Regions from separate parts of the Homo sapiens genome. Here regions 2, 3 and 4 are each linked to region 1. Evidence: promoter capture Hi-C in human tissues and cell types (Jung and others, 2019). All regions are on one chromosome and are shown on one strand. Each heading gives the region's core, a stretch centred on a gene start or on the middle of the fragment in contact. The rest is flanking DNA. Distances are from core to core; before and after follow the strand shown.

Evidence for each region. Contacts are between HindIII fragments. The study calls those that stand out against the background at their distance.
Region 2: a contact is called between the fragment with the promoter of PHLDA3 here and the fragment with the promoter of LMOD1 in region 1, in 1 of the 25 tissues and cell types used here (IMR-90 fibroblasts).
Region 3: a contact is called between a fragment that was not itself captured here and the fragment with the promoter of LMOD1 in region 1, in 1 of the 25 tissues and cell types used here (liver).
Region 4: a fragment that was not itself captured here is called in contact with the fragment with the promoter of LMOD1 in region 1 in 1 of the 25 tissues and cell types used here (small bowel).

What each region holds. Positions count from the first base shown.
Region 1 is chr1:201,945,177-201,948,080 of GRCh38, reverse strand. It overlaps LMOD1 (leiomodin 1), which reads left to right and starts at 1,533. Exons shown (of 3, transcript NM_012134.3): 1 at 1,533-2,001. The coding sequence starts at 1,741. The HindIII fragment of the contact is 9,839 bases long and covers 1-2,904 here.
Region 2 is chr1:201,467,771-201,470,674 of GRCh38, reverse strand. PHLDA3 (pleckstrin homology like domain family A member 3) reads left to right here and starts at 1,487. Exons shown (of 2, transcript NM_012396.5): 1 at 1,487-2,334. The coding sequence starts at 1,889. The coding sequence ends at 2,272. RefSeq lists silencers at 1,218-1,447, 1,658-1,967 and enhancers at 1,468-1,587, 1,102-1,816, 2,038-2,177, 2,248-2,307. The HindIII fragment of the contact is 18,719 bases long and covers 1-2,904 here.
Region 3 is chr1:201,571,404-201,574,307 of GRCh38, reverse strand. All of the region lies in intron 1 of NAV1 (neuron navigator 1), which reads right to left. Among named protein-coding and RNA genes, the nearest start is that of NAV1, 34 kb to the right of the region's middle. The HindIII fragment of the contact is 8,445 bases long and covers 1-2,904 here.
Region 4 is chr1:201,597,184-201,600,087 of GRCh38, reverse strand. The region is part of intron 2 of NAV1 (neuron navigator 1); the gene reads right to left. LOC124904482 (a long non-coding RNA gene) reads left to right here. Exons shown (of 2, transcript XR_007066789.1): 2 at 1-242. Among named protein-coding and RNA genes, the nearest start is that of NAV1, 60 kb to the right of the region's middle. The HindIII fragment of the contact is 8,971 bases long and covers 1-2,904 here.

The DNA.
Region 1 (2,904 bases), core at 284-2,783:
GGATTACAGACATGAGCCACTGCACCTGGCCTGATTTTGTATCTTTAGTGATATCTCTTGCTCTTAGAACAATGCCTGATATATAATAGGCACTTGATAAATCACTCAATAAATATATACCTACGGTTTGACCAATAAGTTGGCTACTGACTCTTAAAATGACAACCCCCAGGTTTCCCTAAAGTCTTCTTCCACTCTTCCTATCAAGTCTGCCTGCCTTCCTTCTGCCCTTCAGTCCCCCCAGTGGACACCATTCCCCTCTTCAGCCTTAACCTAAAGTTGGACTAGTGGACATTAAATGGCACGGCCAAGTTTTAGTCCCAGACGATCCCTGGACTCAGCAAATGCTGATCAAGTGACTGTCTCTCTCTGGCTTAGGATGGAAAGATGCCAGGAAAGATCGAAGCATCTACCCTGATGGGTTACACCAGGGCTTCTAGAAGGGATTTTGTGGCAGGAGGAAGGGGGGCAGGGGATTGAATGTCTCTGTGACTTGTGCAGGGCAGCATGATGGATGAGCAGTGGAAAGCCCTTCTATGAAACATGCCAGACCTGTTGCAATCGTATCTCTCCCGACGGCCCAGAATTCTGTTTCCCTGAAGACATACTAAATCGTGCTCTGGATTTATATGTGGGTGGTGACCTGCCTCTGTGCTCCCAAAGGAGGTCTGTCTACAGATGCCCGGCAGAGGAAGAAACAGATGACAACAGGGGGAGGTTTGAACCCTCTTCCCAAGAGCCTTGGAACTTCATGGAAAGTGACAGCCCTTTAAGAGTTTCCCGACTTCTGCAGATCCTTCTCTCTTTCCCAAACAGCCTGCCAGTTTTCAGTTTTGGTACACAGTAAGGATTTATTCTCTCTCTCTCTCTCTCTCTCTCTCTCTCTCTCTCTCTCTCTCCCTCTCCTGCCTAGCTATCTCTATCTCTAAGTTTGTCTTTCTGTCTCCTGTCTCTCTCTTAAGAAGTGGCCAAAGGATCCTGGAGCCTCTGATGCTCAGCCTTCAGGTCCTCCTTGGCAGAACCTGGGTAGAAAGAAAATGGGTAGGCAGGGGGTTAGGAGTAACAGCTCCTCATCTTGAATCTAGACTTTCCTGGAGCTGTATACACCTGGGAGCCCCCCAGCACATTACCAAATACTGTAGAAGGAAGTCCATGAACCACACATTGACCACAGTGATACGTCCACCCGGTGATGGAGTAGTAAAATACGCTCTTGAACGTGCCCCGGGCTGGCGAGTTCACCGGCCCTCATGGCCTCGTCCCTGCTTGTCTGGCTCTCCGTGGCTGTGATCTGCTTCTGCCAGCCTACGCATTTTTGTATCTTTTTCTCATTGCGTGGCCCCTTGTCTTTAAAAGGCTAAACTGCTCTGTACTAAATTTGGTCACGCAGCGCTCCAAGATTCCCTGGAATGTCCTCAAGTTTCAAACAGCTCTGACAGCGAGGTAGGCCCGCCCCCAGCTTGGGGATTGGCTTCTCCTCTCCGGGCCTGGCAGTTGTCGGGTCTTATTGGCCGCTGATTAGACCAGCCGGGGTCCACTAGCCCTGGGCTTCAGGGAGGCTGCTGCGTCCAGTGAACACTTCAGCACCTGTAGCACAGAAGGGCCAAGGAGCTGCAGTCCTCGACCAGCAGGAGGTTTGCTCCTCAGCCCACTCGCTGCATCCAGATCAGCTCACCCCTCTCCCTTCCCTGCCCACCAGGACTCTGATAGCCCCTGGCAGCCACAGCCCATTTTGCCAAGATGTCTAGAGTAGCCAAATATCGCCGGCAGGTGAGTGAAGACCCCGACATCGACAGCCTGCTGGAGACCCTGTCTCCCGAGGAGATGGAGGAGCTGGAGAAGGAGCTGGACGTGGTGGACCCAGACGGGAGTGTTCCCGTGGGGCTGCGGCAGAGAAACCAGACGGAGAAACAGTCCACGGGTGTGTACAACCGGGAGGCCATGCTCAACTTCTGTGAAAAGGAGACCAAGAAACTTATGCAGAGGGAGATGTCCATGGATGTGAGTGAGCACAGCCCTGGAGGGGAGGAGGGAGACAGGGGAGGGCTGGAGACCCTGGCTTCATGATTAGGATGCTTCCTTCCTTAGAAGAAACGTTCTTGTTGGCAAAGGATTTTAATGCTTCAGAACTGATGATTATCCACTGAACTAGCGGTGCGAATCTCTTACTCCTAATTTCTGTTTTATAAGCAGAAGTCGGATATGTTGGAGGAACACAACATCCCACAAAATCAAATAGAGCTACTAGTAGAATGGGAGCTGGAAGGTGTCCTTGAAGAGTCCATTGTCAAGTTGACTCCATCCTGGTCCCACAATACCTTTGTTTTTCTCCACACTCATTCCATCCTATTGTGAGGAGGGGTAAAAAGAGAGAGTGATACTTTATGTCTCCTGTCAGCCACCCAAAAAGACAAAGCTAAGCCATTTTTTGTGGGAGAATAACTCATTTTCAAGTCCCCAACCCTATGGGCATCTCACGGCACATGGATCATTTCAGGAGGCTTGGGGGTAAATGAGTTTCCCAAAGCAAAGGGAGACAGGGACCAGGAGTCTATGGGCTGGGAAATGTGGCTTAAAGACCTGATAAGCTTCAAATTTATTCCCAGGGAAGATGTTTTTTGTTGTGGTTAGTTGGTTTTTGGTTTTGTTTTGTTTTTGCACTCTCCAGAGGAGCCTCTGGAGGGAGCATGCCCTCTTTTTGGTAATTAACCCTTTAGCAGCTGGCGAGGCCGCTTTGCTGGGGGTTGAAGATAGTCATAGAGGAGGGAAAAGGGGTGACGGTTTTGGAAGCATCTGCCCACACCTACAATGGGCTTAAGCACAACTTGCTTTCTGTTTTCCTGAGTTGGCATGGAGGAATTTTTTTTTTGTCACTATTGCATTGGTATGTGAGTTTTCTTTGGA
Region 2 (2,904 bases), core at 238-2,737, 480 kb after region 1:
TGTGTGTGTGTGTGTGTGTGTGTGTATAAAGAGTTATGGATGAGACACTGACAGTTCCCTTCTCTCATCTCCTAACTTTGGGACTGCAGAGGAGCGCACTCCTATCCCCACAACAGGACCTTCCCTGTATCTGTTAGGCTCTGCTCTTTGGGCAGGAGGATGGCAACACAGGGTGTAAGTACAAAGAGGTCTTATTACTGTCATTATTATATATCATTACTCCCGTAAGAATCTATTATTAACATGTTGATGAATAGACCTTTAAGAAACTGTGGGCCTGGAGGAACTGATCAAGATGGGGACAGAATGAGGACCTAAGAGAGCCCTCTTCCAGTGCCTGGCTTAATCTCAGGGCCCCCATCATTCTCTAAAGGGAATAAGAGTGGGGAGAGGGGAGGAAGAACATTTCTTGAGACTCAAGAGTTGTCAGGTCCTGTCTTGGGTCTTTCACAAATGTTATCCAACTTATTCATCAGGACAACCCCATGAGATGAGAATAAATTAATCCTCCTATTCGACAGATGAGGAAATTGACGGAGGTCAGTAAAGTTGCCCCAGGTGGGCAGGACACAGCCAACAAGGGAGAAGAGGTTTGAACTCAACTCTGCAAAGCTCTTGTGTTTACACAATATTCTAGCCAGAACAGAAAGAGACCTCTCCCTCTGCGTTCCCCTCCAGCTCTGTATGCGGGAGAAGTCCATTCTTGGGGAAGGCCGAGGGAGGACAGAATCTGCGGAGCGGAAGGAGCAAGGTTGGAGCTGCGCTTACACCTGGGACTGGCTGTGCCATCGGTCCAGCGTCGGCGCCTGCAAGTGTGCGGTGGAGAGGACTGCAGACAGTGGCATCCCCAGGTCACGGAGGGGGTCCCTCCTCCCCCACTACGAGGAGGGCATGAATGACCTCAAGCCTCAGCTCTCCTTTGTTGGCACTGGCTACTCTCTACAGGCCTCCCCGCGCAATGCATGGGGGTAGGAGTAGGAGCAGGTGAACTGTCCAAGCAGAGGCAGCGATGGACAGCCTCTCTTGGGTGCTGCACAGAGAAATCGGGCGATGGAGGAGGAACCCAACATGGGCTTGATGCAGAGGCTGGGGGCCCCATGGCGTGCCAAGTAACCAGCAGCTGTCTGACGCCTAACATGCAACTGGTGCCACTGCGCGTTCGCCAAGCAAGCCCACCCCCTTGCTAGCAGCGCGCTCTCCAATCGAGGAGATGCGCCTTCCCCCTCCCTTCCCCGCCATCTCCCCCTTCATTCAAGGCCTGGGGGAGCTGCGGTTCCGAGAAGCGGCAGACGGCAGCCAGAAGGCTTGGGCTGTTGAGTAAGCAGCCCCCTCTCAGTCCCGGCCCTCCCCGCCCCGCGCCCTGCGCCTCCAGTGAGTGACTGAGCCCCCGCTGCGGCCCCGCCCCCGGGGCCCTGCCGGAGCTGGTGCGCGGCGCGGAGGGGAGGGCCGGCCAGGGTAGGAATGCGCTGCGGGCGGGCGGCGCAGGAGGCGAGCGGCGGAACATGTAAGGGCACATCCCGCGAGCTGCCGCCCAGCGCGCAGACAGAGCCCAGGGGAGCAAGAGAACGGGCGGGCGGTGGGGCTCACGGCCTAGGGAGGCGCGGAGGCATCTGGCAGAGGCGGGTCGGGCTGGGCCAGCTGGGGTAGAGCGGAGGAGCGGGTGCCGGCTGAAGCGGGGCGGTGGGCGCGGAGCGCGCTGGGGGCACCGACACCACCTCACCGGCAGCCGGGTGCTGAGGGCCGCGGTGTGGGTGCGCGGAGCAGTCAGGGCGCAGGTGGGCAGCGCGCACGGCCTGCCAGCCCGGGGCGCCAGAATCCTGCGCTGCGGGGCCGAGAGGGGCGCCGCGCCCGCCGCAGCCTGGAGCTTTCCGCGAACCTCGGGGCGCCCATGACGGCGGCGGCGACGGCTACCGTGCTCAAGGAGGGCGTGCTGGAGAAGCGCAGCGGCGGGCTGCTGCAGCTGTGGAAGCGGAAGCGCTGCGTCCTCACCGAACGCGGGCTGCAGCTCTTCGAGGCCAAGGGCACGGGCGGCCGGCCCAAGGAGCTCAGCTTCGCCCGCATCAAGGCCGTGGAGTGCGTGGAGAGCACCGGGCGCCACATCTACTTCACGCTGGTGACCGAAGGGGGCGGCGAGATCGACTTCCGCTGCCCCCTGGAAGATCCCGGCTGGAACGCCCAGATCACCCTAGGCCTGGTCAAGTTCAAGAACCAGCAGGCCATCCAGACAGTGCGGGCCCGGCAGAGCCTCGGGACCGGGACCCTCGTGTCCTAAACCACCGGGCGCACCATCTTTCCTTCATGCTACCCACCACCTCAGTGCTGAGGTCAAGGCAGGTAAGCCCCCGGGGGACTGGGCCCTCTTCTCTCCTTCCCTCCCTTCTCTTTCCCCTACAGAGAGAATGAGGACTAGCATTCTACTTCAGAGCCGGACATCTTAGGGGGGAGGTTCCTGGGGCCAACTGAGGGCATGGGAGGCTTGGGCCAGTGGCCAACCCAGCAGATCCGGACTTTCCCCTGAGGCACCAGGTTGGCCGGTCCAGAATGTGATCCAGGTGTGTGAGAGGAAGATGGAAGCCCTGGGAGGGGGATACCTGGGTGAGATGAGCCTTCTTTCAAGTTGGTTCAGCCCTGACTCAGGTGGAAGGAAGTAGAGGGAGGTTGGCCTGCACATTGCCCCAGGCTGTGGGCCTCTGCTTTCCACGCAGAGCAGGGCTCCTGGACTTCGGCTTTCTGGCAGCTGAGGACAACCGAGGGTGGGGACGCGGATCGTGGAGGCCGACCCTCTTTCCCTCTAGGTTGAATGCTTGTCATAAAGTTTGAGCATTGAATTGATGTAGAAAGACAGTATCTCCCAGATGGCGAAGGCACCATCAAGGGTTGCAAATAGAGCCAAGGAGTCCGGCT
Region 3 (2,904 bases), core at 180-2,679, 370 kb after region 1:
CTCTCTCGTCAACACTCCCCAGCATTTTACCTGACTCTCTCTGTGGGGATTTAACACTTCCTACTTTAGATTATAGAAAGTTGTGTATTACTTTTCTCCCTTACTACATGGTGAGTGTCCTGAGGCTGAGGTCACTTCTTGTTTTCTCCCTTGTACCCAGCCCAGTCCTCTACACTGAAGAGTGCTCAGTAAATGCTTATAAATAGAACTCTTCAGTTTATTTAGACTCGTTCTTTTTTTTTTTTCTTAGAGACAGGGCTGCACTCTGATGTCCAGGCTAGAGTGCAGTGCCGCCACTATCATAGCTCACTGTAGCCTCAAACTCGTGGGCTCAAGCGATCCTCCCACCTCAACCTCCCAAGTAGCTGGGACTACAGGCACGTGCCACCGTGCCTGGCTAATTTTTAAAATTGTTTTAGAGATGGGACCTTTCTATGTTGCCCAGGTTGGGACTAGGCATTCTTAACTTGGGGTCCAGGCACCCGCTGAGCTGAATGTAATGCATTTTTTGGACACAATGCCCACAGCTTTCATCAGATTCCCAAAAAGGGTCCATGACCCCAAACCAATTAGTAATAGATAATATTTGTTGAGTGTTTACTAGGTACCTGGCACCATTTTATATATTTTTCATGTATTAGCTCTCTTAATCATCACAAGATCCCTGGGAGATAGGTACAGCAGGCAGGCCTGGAGCAGAAGACAATTTGGGCCTCCCTCTGTCATGATGGAGGGTCCTGACTGCAAAACAGGAGGCAGGGAGGGGGTGTGTGACAGACATGTAGGGGAGGGGACAAAGCTCTCTGTCAGGAAGAACTGGTGCAGAGGCAGGGCAGGGCAGGGGCTCCCTGAGGGTTTACCTGGGGTCACATGGCTCCACTTCAAAAAGATTTGTTTTTATTCCCCTCCCTTCCTTCCTTCCTTTCTTCTTTCCCCTTGAAAAAGTGTGAATACGGTACAGGTGTGCACACACACACACACGCATACACACACACATATCAGGAGATGAAACATTATCTGGACTTAGCAGCCACGTTCTGTGAAATCAGCACTCCAGGGTCAGCTCCCTGTGGCCTGCCTCGACTTGATGTCCTGCTGTCTGTACATCCTTTGAATCAGTCAGGGTGTCTGGCCTACATGGTAAATTCCTCAGGCACAGGCCATGTGCCTATGCATAATTCAGTCTGAGCTTGATCAACACAAATGAACATTGTCAGGCCTTTAAACAAAGTTTGATTATTTACTTTTGAAGGAGGGCTCTTCCATGCAACCTTTCCAGTGATGACACTAGTTTCAGATGGAGCTGACCTTGGGCTGCTGGGCTCAGGCTTCTAGAAGGTGAGATGGGCAGGGGCAAGATGGAGTAGGAAGGAGCAGGGTTGGACAGCATGGGAGGAGATGGCTATGGGGACAGAAAGAAAAGTAATTCCCAAGAAGAGCACAGCTGGAAACCACCCCCTACCCCAGGGCATCTACTTGAGCAATGAGGATTAATCTCTGTTGTCAACACCTGCACAGTTTAGAGCAGGCCACTTAGCTGCCTCCTTTGAGTCTTGTGATGACTTGCTGGTAAGGTATAAGACAGTCATTCCTATCCCCATTTCATTGATGGTGATAAAGGCTAAAAGAAATTAGAATCTGGCCAGGCGCGGTGGCTCACGCCTGTAATCCCAGCACTTTGGGAGGCTGAGGCGGGTGGATCATGAGGTCAGGAGTTTGAGACCAGCCTGGCCAATATGGTGAAACCCCCGTCTCTCCTAAAAATACAAAAATTAGCCGGGCATGGTGGTGCGTGCCTGTAGTCCCAGCTACTCGGGAGGCTGAGGCAGAAGAATTGCTTGAACCGGGGAGGTGGAGGTTGCAGTGAGCCAAGATTGCACCACTGCACTCCAGCCTGGGTGACAGAGCAAGACTCTGTCTCAAAAAAAAAAAAAAAAGAAAGAAAGAAAGAAAAGAAATTAGAATCCAAGTCTCCTGACTCCAAATCTTGAACTTGGCCTACCACACAATGCTGCTCTCAGGGAACTATGGAAGCCAGCTTAGGATCCAGGGTTCTGTAGCCTGGAGATGCTGTGGCCCCTGCAGAAGCCCACCATGCTTGTCACATGCCTCAGCCTGGAGGACCAAAAACCCCGCTGCCCAGTTTCCTCGCTATCCCATGATGAATCCCATAACTTCTCCCTTAATCTGTGATCACATCCTCATCTCTGAGGAACCTGAGTAAAACACTCTCTCATATAGGACCTTTTGTCTGGAAGGTGCTCAGTGACTGTGAGTGGAATGAGCGATCAGATGAGTGAATGACTGAGTGAGTGAAGTGTTAATAATTCCTTATGGGTGCATTAGGCACATTAGGTATTCCCCTTTCCGCTATTAATAGATGGTTATACCAGAGTATCATTAACATATGTGGTACTTTTACCCACTCAAATTGTTTGTGCCCTTCCCCTGTGATAAACAATTTTGCCAAGAACATTCTTGCAGCTAGATCTTTGTACACATTGATGATCATTTACTTCAGTTAAATTCCTATGTAATCCCACTTTAATAATGGGATAAACAGAACCAAATTAGGAAGGGAAATTTGCTGCAAAAGAAAAAAAGGTCATAATAAGCAATTCTAGGCAAAACAGAACGCCTAGCCAGGCTTCCAGTTCTTGACTGTGGATAATTGAAGGGGCCCTTGCAGTTCTGCTGGGCACCCATAGCCAGAGACCTAGGGACAGCCCCAGAGTGCTCACTCTGTGGTCCCCTTTGTCTGTGATCTCATCATGGTGGGGGACTGGTTTCCCAGCTGTGTGACAAACTCCCTGACAGCAGGGACTGCATTCCCCAGTGCCTGGAGCCTGGCAGTACCTGGAACAAACATGGAAGGTGCTCAATATATATCTTCTACCCTGGCCT
Region 4 (2,904 bases), core at 102-2,601, 350 kb after region 1:
ATGAGGTATCCCGAGTCACAGATGAGCCGCTTTGCTTAAGACCCTTCCTCTCTAGGGCAGATAACCGGGCCCAAGCTGTCTCCTCGGTTCAGAGCCCAGAGCTTGGCCTGTGACTTTAAAACTCAGCCCCTATTTTTGAGCACATAGCACTTCATAATAAATAGCAGAGAAAGTGAAGCTGAGACAAGATTGTATCTCAGCAGAATTGTTTCCAAATAAAGTGTTGTTTTTTCCCCCTCAAACTCTCCCTGGAGATGCCTATGGTGCTTAAAAACCACTAAATATCTCTCCTTGTTTATGACACAGACGCCATCCCTCCCTCCCCCTGTCCCTGAGCCTGGTCTCTTTTATAGCAATTGCGTGAGTGGCGCTGAAGAGAATCAGAGCAGGCGCTCGGAAGCCTGCCTGATGGTTCCCCCTCCTAGTAAGAGGGGCTCATGACAGACGCAAAATTCATGGAGAGAAGCTCCCATGACTTGAGCATCGAAGTGGGCCCTAAGTCCTGGATTTCGCTGGCTGCCTGCCACAGACTCTGAACTGCCAGAGAATCCATTCTTCTGTACCACCTGTGGGTCAGGACCTCATGAAACCCTTAACAAATTCATTTTGTGCTCTGTGCTTACAAGGCGCACAGGGAACTGGAATTGCATCTGGGAAAAAGGGATGGAAGGGGCCGTCCAAGGAGAGGTTAATGGACTAGGGTGGCTGATTCCAGAGTGAAGGTCAAAGGGAGGCTGGCTCATGGACCTTGCAGATATAATGCCTTTGTTCTCTGTTCCCACTGAAAACAGGCCCTGCAAAAGGAAGTCCTCCTCTAGCCATAAAGATTGGGGTTGGATACAAGAAAATGACATGAGGAGGAGCTGGGAACCTTGAATCACGTGATCCAAAGAGAGTGTGACCTCATTGTCCCAGAGGGTTCTCCTTGCAGGGTTTTGCCTCCTGGGGGGCCCAACCTGGCCAGCTAAGCCCAAGTGGGGAGGCTGTCAGGGTGGGTGACTGTCAGCAGGCAGAGATCTGGCCTTATGCCTCCCCATATGCTAAGTGGGGCCAACAAAAGTCCTGTCCCCACTAGAGGCTCCAGAAATGTTTTCTGAATGACAGGCAGCTCCTTCCTGATGCCAATGCCCCACCTGATAATGATCATCTGTCCAGAGGCAGGGGGAGGGATGTCATGGCCTCTGTATAGCCTATCAGCTCCAGGGTAAGCCACAGAAAACAATAACACCCCCCTCCCACTTACTTCTGTCCCCAAACTGAAGACTCGGGTTCCTCATGGCCGGGACCCTACCAGCTTGTAGTTTCACAGCCTTTTTAAAATGGCAACACGATGACTGCCCTCACCCACTGCTTTTACTGCATCCATTAGCTCAGCTCCTTCTAGTCGGGGGAAGGCAATTGACAGATGATGAACTTGAGGTTTGGAGAGTGTGAGAGATTGTCCAAGGTCACAGCTCCACCCCCTGCTCCTATTCCAGGCGAAGCACATCCAGTTGGTCCTGTGGTCCTGCCAGTTTTCTTGGCCCTTGCTCTCTGGTCTTACCACCCTAACTCAGGCAGTTCCGATTCCTCACCAGGACACACACTTTGTTCTCCCGGCCCCACGCCGCATGGCCCACTCACACCATTTCCACCCTGAGGCCAAAAAGACCTGATCGAATTGTGGTTCTGATAACGACCCTCCTACGGGGTAAAATCAAGTTTCTTGGGGGTCCTCTAAGATCCTCCAGCACTTGATTCCTCCCTATTTCCCAGACTCATCTCTCTGCCCTGCCTCATTCTTTATCTTCAAGTTTTACTGAATAGTTTATCATTTATCCACACACCACGAGGTTTCAAGCTTATCCTTAGCTAATTTCTATTCATCCTCCAAGCTCAGCTCAGACGTCATCCCTTCCAGGAAGGCCTCTCTGACCTTCTGTAAGTGGCCCTGAGCTGCCAGAGCACTGTGTACATAGCGTTGGCTGCTCAGTCACCAGGTATACCTGGCTCATCTCCAAAGCTGCCTTCTTGAAGAACACTTAGCTTTGGCCACCTGGCGCCTGGTATCATGCCTGGCACGTAGTAGACACTCAGTATATATTGGAGGCATTGACGACATCTTGACGCCCAGGCATCCTGCAGCTGAACTCCCTCCCCTTGCTCCCTGGCCAAGGTGGGTGGGGCCTACTTCCCCGACTCTGCTCTCTGGAATCTGGGGCAATGGAGTTGGGCAGGAGATGGCACACCTCACAGGGGAGGGGCCTGCCTCACCTCGTCACACTGGGCCAGGACATCACGGGCACAGCAGGAGGAAATGAGACACAGCTGCCAAGGAAACAGACCAGGAAATCTTCCCCGCGGAACAGGAAGCAGGTGGAGCATGGGGGCTGAGCTTCCGCAGGAGTGTGAGGGAGGAAACCCGGCTCCTGTGCCTCAGGTCCTCCCAGCTTGGCCCTCAGCCTGGTGGAGCAGGGGCTCTGCAGCCTGTGGGAAGGGGTCCTTATGGACTCCCAGCTTGGCCCTCAGCCCGGTGGAGCACGGGCTCTGCAGCCTGTGGGAAGGGATCTTTGCAGATCCTCTTCTCAGGCTTTAACCAGCGGGCCCCAGGGGCATGTTAGGAGATTATGTGATAGTCTGTAGTTTGCACAGTGAGCCTTGACCAGGAAGCCCCCAGGAAGACAGCTTAGCTGTCTTCAGAGTGAGGCCGGAGGGGAAGAAGGAGAGTGTAGGGGGGTATTTGGCCAAGGCCAATGTGTGTGAATCCTGAGAAATGCTGGGTGCCTTAGCTGGGTGAAGGCTGGGAAGCCAGATGGGACTGCAGAAGACCTAGAATGCTCCCTCTCCTCAACCCCCTTCACTGATTCTCCTCTTCGTCCTTAACTTCTCATCACAAGATCGCTTCCTCAGTGACCATTTCCCTAA